3 separate regions of the Homo sapiens genome follow, and all the other regions are linked to region 1. Evidence: promoter capture Hi-C in human tissues and cell types (Jung and others, 2019). All regions are on one chromosome and are shown on one strand. Each heading gives the region's core, a stretch centred on a gene start or on the middle of the fragment in contact. The rest is flanking DNA. Distances are from core to core; before and after follow the strand shown.

What was found. The method cuts DNA at HindIII sites, captures the fragments that hold promoters and counts their contacts. A contact is called where the count stands out against the background at its distance.
Region 2: the fragment with the promoter of CCDC102A here is called in contact with the fragment with the promoter of KATNB1 in region 1 in 1 of the 25 tissues and cell types used here (stomach).
Region 3: a fragment that was not itself captured here is called in contact with the fragment with the promoter of KATNB1 in region 1 in 5 of the 25 tissues and cell types used here (dorsolateral prefrontal cortex, liver, mesendoderm cells and 2 more).

Annotation. Positions count from the first base shown.
Region 1 is chr16:57,734,101-57,737,560 of GRCh38, reverse strand. KATNB1 (katanin regulatory subunit B1) reads right to left here and starts at 1,791. Exons shown (of 20, transcript NM_005886.3): 1 at 1,706-1,791; 2 at 278-583. The coding sequence starts at 317. LOC107984852 (a long non-coding RNA gene) reads left to right here and starts at 917. Exons shown (of 2, transcript XR_001752221.3): 1 at 917-1,125; 2 at 1,954-3,460. RefSeq lists enhancers at 596-665, 2,034-2,203, 1,950-2,244, 2,224-2,333, 2,963-3,460 and a silencer at 1,484-1,723. The HindIII fragment of the contact is 17,781 bases long and covers 1-3,460 here.
Region 2 is chr16:57,534,709-57,538,168 of GRCh38, reverse strand. It overlaps CCDC102A (coiled-coil domain containing 102A), which reads left to right and starts at 1,598. Exons shown (of 9, transcript NM_033212.4): 1 at 1,598-1,669. It also overlaps a transcript of ADGRG5 not described here. RefSeq lists a silencer at 1,356-2,305. The HindIII fragment of the contact is 34,087 bases long and covers 1-3,460 here.
Region 3 is chr16:57,591,067-57,594,526 of GRCh38, reverse strand. All of the region lies in intron 1 of LOC105371291 (a long non-coding RNA gene), which reads left to right. Among named protein-coding and RNA genes, the nearest start is that of ADGRG1, 36 kb to the left of the region's middle. RefSeq lists an enhancer at 1,536-1,615. The HindIII fragment of the contact is 8,264 bases long and covers 1-3,460 here.

The DNA.
Region 1 (3,460 bases), core at 542-3,041:
CATCCTGTCACTTGAATTTCACAGCAACCATAGAATGCAGGCGTCATCTCATTGTACATATAAGAAAACTGAGCCTCAGAGAGGTTAAGTCACCTGCCCAGTGTCACCCAGCTAAGAAGTGCCACAGTCATGATTTACATAATGGTCTATCTTACTCCCAAGTCTAGGAGTCTCCTCCTGTGCCAAGAACAGGAAACAAAGCTGTGGGTTCAGGCCTCCCAGCAACAAGCCGCTAACAGAATAAATGGGGTGATAAAGAAAAATGAAAACCACTCACGCAACTTCCAGGCTGTCTTGGTGACCACAGGGGTGGCCATCCTTCAGCTGGCTGGCACCTGAAGCCCCACCCACAAAATAAACTGTGCTTTCCTCGTGGGGTGGGGGTGGATCCCCCCCCAGATCCACCAATCAAGTTGGCAGAGAGTTCCCACACATCCAGGCAGACAGAATGCCTCGTCTTCTGGCCCTGGGGTGCCTCGTGGTTCCAAATTACCCACAGCAGCAACAGCAGCAGCCTGTGCACATCTGTCACGATCCTGGATCATGGAATGTTAGGCTCGAGCCATCTCAGCTCAATACAGGGCTGCAATACAAACAAGAGGTGACGTCATGTTAGAAAATGCTTGGTAAGAGCTGTTGCTCCCTGGATCACCAAGACCACTTGATAAAGACTGACACCCACCAAAGCCACCAGAGTCAGAAGCTGCACTGCAAATTAGGTTTGGGAATCTGCAGAGGGGGCACCTCAGGTAGGGTGATTTGGAACGTAAGGAAAAAGAAACTCCTCCCAGAGGCCAGGATAATGAGCTGCAGCTCTGTTCCGGGATGCTGGCTGCCTAAAGTGCAGCAGCCGCAGTGGGGCGGAGAAGACCACGTGTCTGCAATTCACATAGATTTCCTGCGAGTCGTTGTTTTTGTCTGACGTGTGGGATGTGGGAGAGCGGAGTCAGAAGCTAAGCTTAGGGGCCTAGGAAAGGCATCCCAGAGACGGCCACTGAAGTCCTCCTTGGAAAGAATCTCGAAGACGACCCTGATGGTCCAATTCCCCAGCTCCTGGCAAGGGAACCGCTCCTGCTCCCTGCGATTCCCAAGGACAGAGCTAGGAACTAGGCCTCCAGTCTGGGCGTAAGTGGCTATGACTCTTCAACTCTAAAAGGCCTCCTCATGGAGCCTCCCACCTCCTTCCCACAGCCACTTCACCTCTTTCCCATGAGCCCGCTCCCCTCCGTCCCCTTTCTCCTGGGTCCCCGGGTCTGCCTCTCTAGTCCTCCGTTCACACCCCCTTTTCTCCCTGCCCCCTGAGTCTCCCACTTATGCACATCCTGTCTCCCGATATCCCTCACGTGGCCCCTGCCTCGCCAGACTCCCGTTACTGCCCTTTCCCATATGCTCGCGGGGTCTCCCATTCATTCATTCTCCTACTTCTCTTCTCCCTATTCATTACCTGTCCTTCTGCAGACCCCCAGCTCTGCTTCCGGCCTCCCTGGTTTTGCCCCCTCCGGCCTCCACCCCGACCCCTCTCGTCCGGGGGCGGGGGCAGGTCCCTCGGCCACGGCTGATCCTCCCAACCCTCTGCTTGCGGAGTACGGGCTCTAGCCTCCCCACGCTCAGAGCTCTCTGCCCGCAAGCCCAGCCAGCCCCGCCTGGCTCGGCCCAGCCCAGGGCCCACCGTCCCCTCGCCACCTCGTCCCCTTGCCCACTCCACCTGCAGCTGCGGCTCCGGAGGCCGAGGCTCCGCTCCAGGCGCGACCCCCACTTGCCTCCATCCCCTGCCTTGATTGGCCGCTGCTTGACAACCGACCCTCACAACAAAACCTCCGGCTCAGAGCCCCGCCCACCTTGCCTCCCGCACCAATCAGCTGCCGCGGGTGCTCCGCCTCCTGCCAGGACTGACCAATGGAAGCAGGCGCTTCTGCCGCTTTTCCTCAGTACCCGCCCTCTTTTCCTAAATAGGACTAATCAAGAGGAAGGAACGTTCAAGAGCCGCCCCTTGGCCTCTAATAAACCAATGCAAGCTGCCGTTTCCTTAGTCCCGCCTCCGTCTCAAGTTTTCCCTTTCCTCTCCGTTTCCTCCCTCGAACCTAATTTGTGTCTGAAAACTTTTGAGAGCCGCCCTCCAATGGCGGCTGCGCCAATGGCTTGAGCAACCGTCCTGGATTGACCAATCAGCGTCCGCATTATTGGAAAACTCAATTCCCAGATAGCCAATGGGAAAGGAACTTCGGGGGCAGTGTGAAGCCTCAGGCCTTCCATCTTGGAGTGGGGCAAAACCTAAGGAGGCCTTAGTCGGCATTTTGCCGAAGCTCCTCATTCTTCACTTTGCCTGCAGATGGTCCCCCGTGGCAGGAGGACTTTGTCCCTGTTCTTTGACCCGGACGCCGGCTTGAATCCCCCATGGGAGGTCTAGAAGGAAACAGCCTGATTCCGGAGCCGAGGCAGGCGCTGAACCCTGTAGCACTGCACACGCAGCCACCGCCTCGACTAATGGATGCGTGGGCAAGGGGCTGCTCCCTGAATGGCTGCAATCAGGGAATCGGAGAAAGGCCAGCTTTATTTGTGACACGTTGGGCGGGGTGGGCTCTGGGAAGCGCCGTAACCCTTCTCGACTCAGGGCCTCTCGCGTGGCCGCTTAGGAGGGACTTGGCCCCGCAGCCGCCTCTCCCTGTTGCCCAGAGGTTGTCCCAGGCACCCAGAGCCCCTCGAACCTTGCCCTTCGGCCTCCAGCCTCTCACCGCAGGTCAGGGCTCCTTGGGCTCACATAACGCCCAGTACAACCATAAGAGGTAGGAATTCCTGTTCCCATTTACAGATGAGGAAACTGAGGCCCGGGTTAAGATGCTTGCAGAAAACCACACGGTCAGAAAGTAATAGCCCCAGAATTCGAACCCTTGTTCTGAAAGCCAAAGCGTGGGGGAGTCCCCACTCTGCCTTCTGCTTCAGCCTTCTGCTTCAGATTCTCCTGCTTCAGCCTCCTGGGTAGCTGGAACCACAGGCGCCCGCCACCACGACGGGCTAAGGCTAGTTTTTATATTTTTAGTAGAGACGGGGTTTCTCCATTTTGGCCAGGCTGGTCTTGAACTCCTGACCTTAGGTGATCCACCCGCCCCAGCCTCCCGAAGTGCTGGGATTACAGGCGTGAGTCACCGCAAGACACCTTTAAAAGATTAGCAGAATAACATCGGATCAAAACTGTCTAGCCTGCAGTTCCCCTTAATTTTGTATTATAAAAAGAAAACTAAACAGAGAAAACTTTAAAAGACAATATAATGATACCACGTAGATTCCAGTACTTGTTAACAGTTTGCCATATTTGCTTCGTCTGTGTGTCTTTTCGGAACCATTTGAAAATTGTAGATATGACATTTCACCCCAACACCAAATACTGAGCATGTATCTCTTAAAAATAAGGCCCTTGGCCAGGCGCGGTGGCTCACGCCTGCAATCCCAGCACTTTGGGAGG
Region 2 (3,460 bases), core at 349-2,848, 200 kb after region 1:
CCCCTGCAAAAGACATCCTCAGGACAATATTTACTGCTTCTTCCTAAGGAGAGAAGGCCTGATAGTGATGAGGTTATAGCTGGAGTTCAGGTGCACCATCAACTCAGTCTCCACCACCTTCCCCAGCCCCATTTCCACCTCCAAAAACTCTGGGCAAGACCTCTGGGCTCTTGATCCAAGGCTGTTACTGGCTGTAGGACCTTGTGCAAGTCTGAGCCAAGAGCCTCTCTGAGCCTTCATTTCCTCAGCTGTAAAATGTGGATGCCCTTGTCCTCTGAGTACTCAAACCCCACATACATCTCCTATCTATCTCTGGCTGGTGAACAGACGCTTTCAACATTCAGCCACGCATAACAAATACAAAGCAAATGAATCGACAAGTGAAACTGCCAGTCTTGCAACGTATGGGATTTCATGAAGTTGGTGGAAGCAAAGCAGGAGAAATGGAACAGCCGCTGCCCACAGAGAAAGGGAACGTCTGCAAGGGAAGTGACCCAGACCCGAAAAAAGGCACTGGACTATCAAAGGATTCAGAGTGATCCTTGAGTTTGAGGAAGCTCTCAAATATTTTTGCAAAAATGAATCTCTTACTGCAAAAACCAGTTCAGAAGGGAAGGATGCTACATACTCAACTATTACAAGAAAAAGCAAGACTTCCAGTGTTAACATCTGATTCATTCTTGGTTCATTTTAAGGCGTGCGTGGTTGCAATCATAATCTAAACTCCGTTAATCACGGGGTAAAACTAATTTATCTTCGTAATATTTAGCTTCTTTTTCTAGGTAAAATCCCAATCAGGCCAGGTTTTCCCCACCATCTTGGTGAATTGTTGGTCTTCTTTTAAATAGATTCACCTCGGGGGCCTTCCAGGGTACAGGATGTAGTGGGGAGTCCTCCAGACGCCTGTCCCGGCTTTCCAGTCAAGACCACAAACATCCTACCCCCAATAGAGAGAAAGCCCCAAAACAGCTGGGCGTCCCCGAAGGCGAAGTACCGTAATTCCCCAGGGCCTGCCAACCACCATCGCAATGCAGAGAAAAGTCTCCGCCCGCCGGGCCGAGTGCTCCCCGCGCCCCCCACCTCTTAACAAGCGCAAGGTTGCTTTCGTCAACCCTTCTGTTGTACAGAAAGAGAAACTGAGGCCCGATGGGCACAGACTTGTTGGCCCACTTCCACTCGGTGGCAGAGCTGGCCCAGGGAAAAATGCAGGTAACAACAGTGAAGACTTGGTAAGCTCGCTCCACGTGCCGAGCTGGGACCCGCGGTGGCCGTTTCTGCTGGGGGCGCCTAGTACGTAGTTGGCGCTGAGGAAACCTGAACCAAGAAAGCCGAGCCCCCCCGCAACTCTCGGCCCCTCACGGGGGTGGGGCCTCCGTTGGGGTACGGCCCGCTCTGCAGCAGAGCCCACCGCCCCGGCCCGCACCCCTCGCCCCGAAGTTAGGCTGGAGCCCCCACCCCAGCAGCTCGGTGGGCCGGGGTCACAGCGGGGCCGCAGCCTGCGACCGCTTCGGGGGCCCCGCCGCTCCCCCTGCTTCCCCTCCCCCCGGGAGGGAGGAGGAGACTCCGCGGCCCTCCCTCGGCCCCTCCGGCGGCGGTCGCAGCTGCACGGTGCCCGCTCTACCCCGCCGCAGCGGCTGGGACGTACGGAGCCCGCAAGTCCCGGCCCGAGGTGAGCGGGGGCGGCAGGCCGGGGGGCGGCAGGCCAAGGCGGCCCGGGAACTTGCTCCAGGCCGCGCGCCTTCCGCGGGAAGGAAGGGGTTAAGTTGTGGGGCGTGCTGGAGGAGCAGACACAGTCGGGGCGCCCGCGGCAACCCCCGAACTCAGAGCAGAACTTTCTAGACGCCTCCCCGGCCTCCCTCAGCCCCCGGAACCCCAGGTCTCCGGTGGGGAGGGGCCGCGGGGTGATGGGGGAGGGGAGGCGCCTCCGGAATGCCGCGGCCCGGGCCGGACGGGAGGGGGCGGCGGGCGGGGACGGAATTTGGGACTCTCCCGGGGGACCCAACGTGGTCGCCATGGCGAATGCGGGATGGACGGGCGGCGCTGGCCAATCAGAGCACGGCGCCCTGCCCAGAGCCGCGGCGACTGCCAATGGGGGCCATGCGGTGGGGTGGGCGGGACCGCGCGGCGCGGGCCGGGAACCCCCTCCACCCTCCGCCCGTCGCTAGGTGGAGCGGGGCGGTTCGCAGGGCCAGCGGCTTGGGAGGGGTCGACTAAGTGAGGACTAAGGCGACGCAGGGCTGGGGCTTCAGTTTCAGTACCTTAGGTGGGGGTGGTGTCCACCTTCCCACCCCCGCTCTCCCAGGGCTCTTGTGGGGGTTGGATTGGTTTGGGTTCGGGAGGTCTGCCCACCTGTTAGAGCGTTCAGGAATCTTTTTAGTGCCTCTCCCCATCCTGTAGGTAAGGAAACTGAGGCCCAGAGAGGGCAGGGACTTGCAGATATCACACAGCATATCAGTGATGGAGCTGGGACTAGCGGGATGTCTGCTGTACAAGAGTGAAGAGTTCACGGTGTTGCCGAGAGGGGTGGGGCTGGGGTCGGGGTGGGGCTGGGTCCCCATGAAGGTTCACCCCACCATTCCAGCTGTGCGTATCCACTTGGCCTGGTGCCTGCAGACCCCATCGTGTAGGTGCTCTCGGGGGCATTGTGCCCCTCAGGTGGCTAAGATCCAGAAGAGGAGGCATCCCATCACCAGCTCCCTACTCTGGCCTTGCTGCTGGTCCGCGGTGTGGACACAGACACGTAGCTGTCCCTCTGGGCCTCAGTTGGTCCATATGTAAAGAAAGGAGTTCAAATCAATGATCCAGGCTGTCTCTGTGGCTCCTCAGTCTAAGATGGGGCTACCTGGGAATAGGCCAGGGGTGCCTACCCCTGGGCTTAGGTCCAGCCTGGAGGCCTAGCCGCCATCCCTTCCTTTCCCGCCAGCCAGCTCCCCCCAGAGGTCCTGCAGCTGGATCCTGGGCAGCAGGTCACAGGGACAGGTGCCCGCAGTCTGTGGGCTGACCAGCCTTGGGCCCTGCACTTATTCAATCAGGCTGTCCTCTGTGGTTTCCCACTGGGCTCTGCTTTCTGTCCACAGCCAGGCCTGTGGCCATGGGCTTGTCCCAGGGCCCTACCTGAAAGGCTCTGGGAGGATCTACAGGGTTTCAGAGCCGGGGAAGGGGTTGGGGCACTGGGCTCCCCATCCCTTCAGCTGGCCCCTGTCCAGGCCTTGGCATTGCTCATTCCTCTCACTGATATGGAGAGACCCATCCAAACATGCTGAGGACAAAACACAACGCTGTTCCCAGTGGGTCAATTAGGCTTCCCCAGGTAAAAGGTGGGACAGCCGACTTGGCCGTGAGATGACCTCTTATTCCAACCCTGGCCAGACAGGCTCAGATACCTACCTGTCTCAGAGCCTGGCCACCGACTGACTCCTGATCTTTAGGATGACTCAACCTTCCCAAACTCTGCATGGTC
Region 3 (3,460 bases), core at 536-3,035, 140 kb after region 1:
ATTTCCCCAAATTAGCCATACGGAGTGTGGCTCTGTGGAACACTTAGGAGGGGGTGGAGGATGGCTAGGAGGGGTTGTAAATTTGTTCAACCACTTTAGAAAGCAGGCATTATCTAGTAACATTGAAGATGCTCATGACCTGTGGTTCAGACAGTCCACTTCCAGATACATAGCCTGCAGAAGTACATGCATATTTGTACCGCTACTCACCTATAAGAATGCTTATAGTAGCATTGTTGGTAACAGCCTTAACCTGCAAACATCCCAACATCCACCAGGAAATTAATGGATTAATAAATCATAGTATGTTCACATATTGGAATAGTATACAGCATTGAAAAGGAACAAACTACTTCTACATACAGCAATGCAGATGAATCTTACAAACATAACATTGAGTAAAAGAAGGTGGGTTTCATTCATGTAATCTTCCAAAATAAGCAAAACTAAAACTGTATTGTTTTAAAACTAAAACTAAAGAGCTAAAACTGTATTGTTTAAAACTGTACAGGTGGTAAAACCATAAATAAAAGTGAGAGAGAGATTCCTCTAAGTGTCGGGATAACGTTTCCCTCTCCAGCACAGTGAGGTTGTGATGGAGGATTGGCGGTGGGGGTTTCTGGGGTGGTGGCAATGTTCTCTTTCTTTACCAGGGTTGTAGTTACACAGGGATTTGCTTTATCATTTTTGTTAAACTATGGGCATATCCTGTGTATTCTCCATTTTTTAATGCTTAAATGTTTACCATTTTTTAATGCTTAAAAATAAATAACTAGGCCAGGCATGGTGGTTCACACATATAATCCTTATGCTTTTGGAGGCTGCAGCAGGAGGGTCACTTGAAGCCAGGAGTTCAAGACCACCCTAGGCAATGAAGCAAGACCCCCATCTCTACAGAAAAATTTAAAAATAGCTGGGCATTGTGGTGCACACCGGTAGTTGCAGCTACTCAGGAGGTTGAGATGGGAAGATCACTTGAGCCAAGGAGTTTGAGGCTGCAGTGAGCTTTGATTGTGCCACTGCATTCCAGCCTAGGCAACAGAGTAGATCCTGTCTCTGAAAATCCACCAATCTATCAATCAAACCGAGCCACACACATCACCAATTCTCTTCCCTCCGTTGGGTTCCCCATCTTAGTTACAGACAGGCCACCCCAACTACCCAAGAGTCCAAGACATCAGCCTTGATGATGCTCCAACCTCACCCTCACCCTCACCTGACCTGCAGTGTGGGTTCTACCTCCCAGCACCTCCCAGAGCCTCGCCCCTCCCTTTATTCCTGCTGGCAGCATGACCCAGGTGTGGTGGCTCATCATCACCTGCTGCTGATGCCCAAGCACAATCTAGGACAGCTACTCCTCCCTGGATGCCACTCCAACCTGCCTCCACCCCCTGCCAGAGTGATCTTCTTGAAACACCACTTGGATCAGGAACTCCCCTGGTCAAAGAGCTTCAGTATCTCCCTACTTCCCGAGCACCATAATTGGCTCTTCCTTATTTTTCTGGTTTCTCTCCAGCTCCTCCCACCGCCACTCTGCTCACCAAGCCCACTCTCCTGCATTCTCTCTCTACCCCCACCACACCCAACCCCAAGCCTGTGCCACTTCCCCTCCCTTTTCTCCTGCCTAACCCTGTTCAACACTGTGGTCTTGGTGTAGAAGTCACCTCCCACAGGAAACCCTCCTGCCCTGCACCACCCGGGCCAGGCTGGGTGACACCTCTCTCCCCACTCTAACATCTGCTAGCGGAAGCAGCCAAGCCCACAGGCTCCAGGCACTCCAGAGAGGTCTGTGTTCTTGCAGCCTGGGTTCCTGGGTAAGGGAACAAATGCAGGGCCTGTCTGAGACCAGAGGCTCCCACTGTGCCAGGCACAGCCTGAAAGCAGGTCTGGCGTGCTTCTGAGAAGCAGGCTTCTCAGCCTTAGCAAAGCTTTCCCTGGACCAAGCCTGGAGGGTGTAGAGAACCACGTTGAGACCACGGAGTCTAACCCCAGGCCCTTCCCCCGTTTTCCTTCCAGGAGCAAGCAACCTAAGCCACCCAGATTTTTGTTTAACCCAATGGCCTTCTCCATAAAGGACGAGTTGAATTTCCTACCCATGCAGGGGATGAGAGGCCTTGGAGTCTAATGTGACATAAAAATTAATATGACATTTTTGCACCTCCGAGCTTGACCACACACATCTCATTATGTTATCACTGCCTGATACTTCTCCACTCCCCAGCAAATGGTGAGCCAAAGGTGGGGGAGTGAAGTGGCAGAAACGGGAACTGGGTCTCCTTCCTTCATAGGGTACCCTGGAGCTGAGCAAGTCCTGGCTCAACAGAAGGTCTCACTGCATGTTGGATAGACAGAGAGTAGATGGACAGGTGTTTGAACATTGGATGGATGGATGGATGGATGGATGGATGGATGGATGAATGGATGGATGAAGAGAAGAGCCCACAGACATTAGAATGGACAGATGAGTGGATGAAGGAGGAAGGAAGGATGGATGGATGGAGGGATGGATGGATAGATGGACAGATGGACACGCAGACATTAGAATGGATAGATGGACGGATGAATGGATGGAGGCTGGACGGATGGATGACGGGTGGAGGACAATGGACAGATGGATAGTCAGATGAATGGCTGGATGAAGGAACAGATGAGTGGATAGATGAGGAAATAGAAGATAAAGCGATAATGGATGGATGGGCAGACAAAAGAATGAACAGATAAATGGATGAATGGACAAAAGTATAAATGGATGGGTGAATGTTAGAACAACAGACAGCCCAACAGATGGATGGACACACTTACCAATGTTCTTCTTTAACAGGACTGGGAAAGTCAAGCCAGGGCCTCAGACCTGCTCTTGTTGGAAATGCTCCACCTCATAGATGGCAGGGATGTCATCGCCACCCACAGGCGCTAGGATGAGGGAAGAAGGCAGAAGTGGCCAGCCCTGACCCCTGGTGGTTGCTATGGGAATGATCACCCCAGAGCCTGGCTTGGCTGCGGGAAGCTGGAAAGGGTGGGACATTCCAGCACACTCTGATCTTCTGTCATCCAGGCAGGCTCCCATCAAAACGTTCTTGGACACAGTTTGCCACATCTATAGTGTGCTAGGCACCAAACCAGGAGTTTTCTTACACTCTGAGGGCCTAGTCTTGGCCAAGCCCTGCTAGAGAGAGCTGCTGGGGCCACTGTGGACAGGTGACTCATACGGCATACATTTATGCATTGCTTGTCACGCCAGGCTGCGAGCCAGCCCACTCACTCCTTTCTCATCAGCCTTTGAAGTAACACCCAGGACAACCCCCATTTGACAGGTGAGAATACAGAGCCTCAGAGAGGCCAAGAGGCTTGCATGGGGCTGTAGCAAGTGAGGGGCAGAACCCAGGCTGTCAGGGAATCTCCCCCTCACCCTGCCCACCCTTAACGACCTTGCTCCCTGCCTCCCCGCCAGACCCTGTGG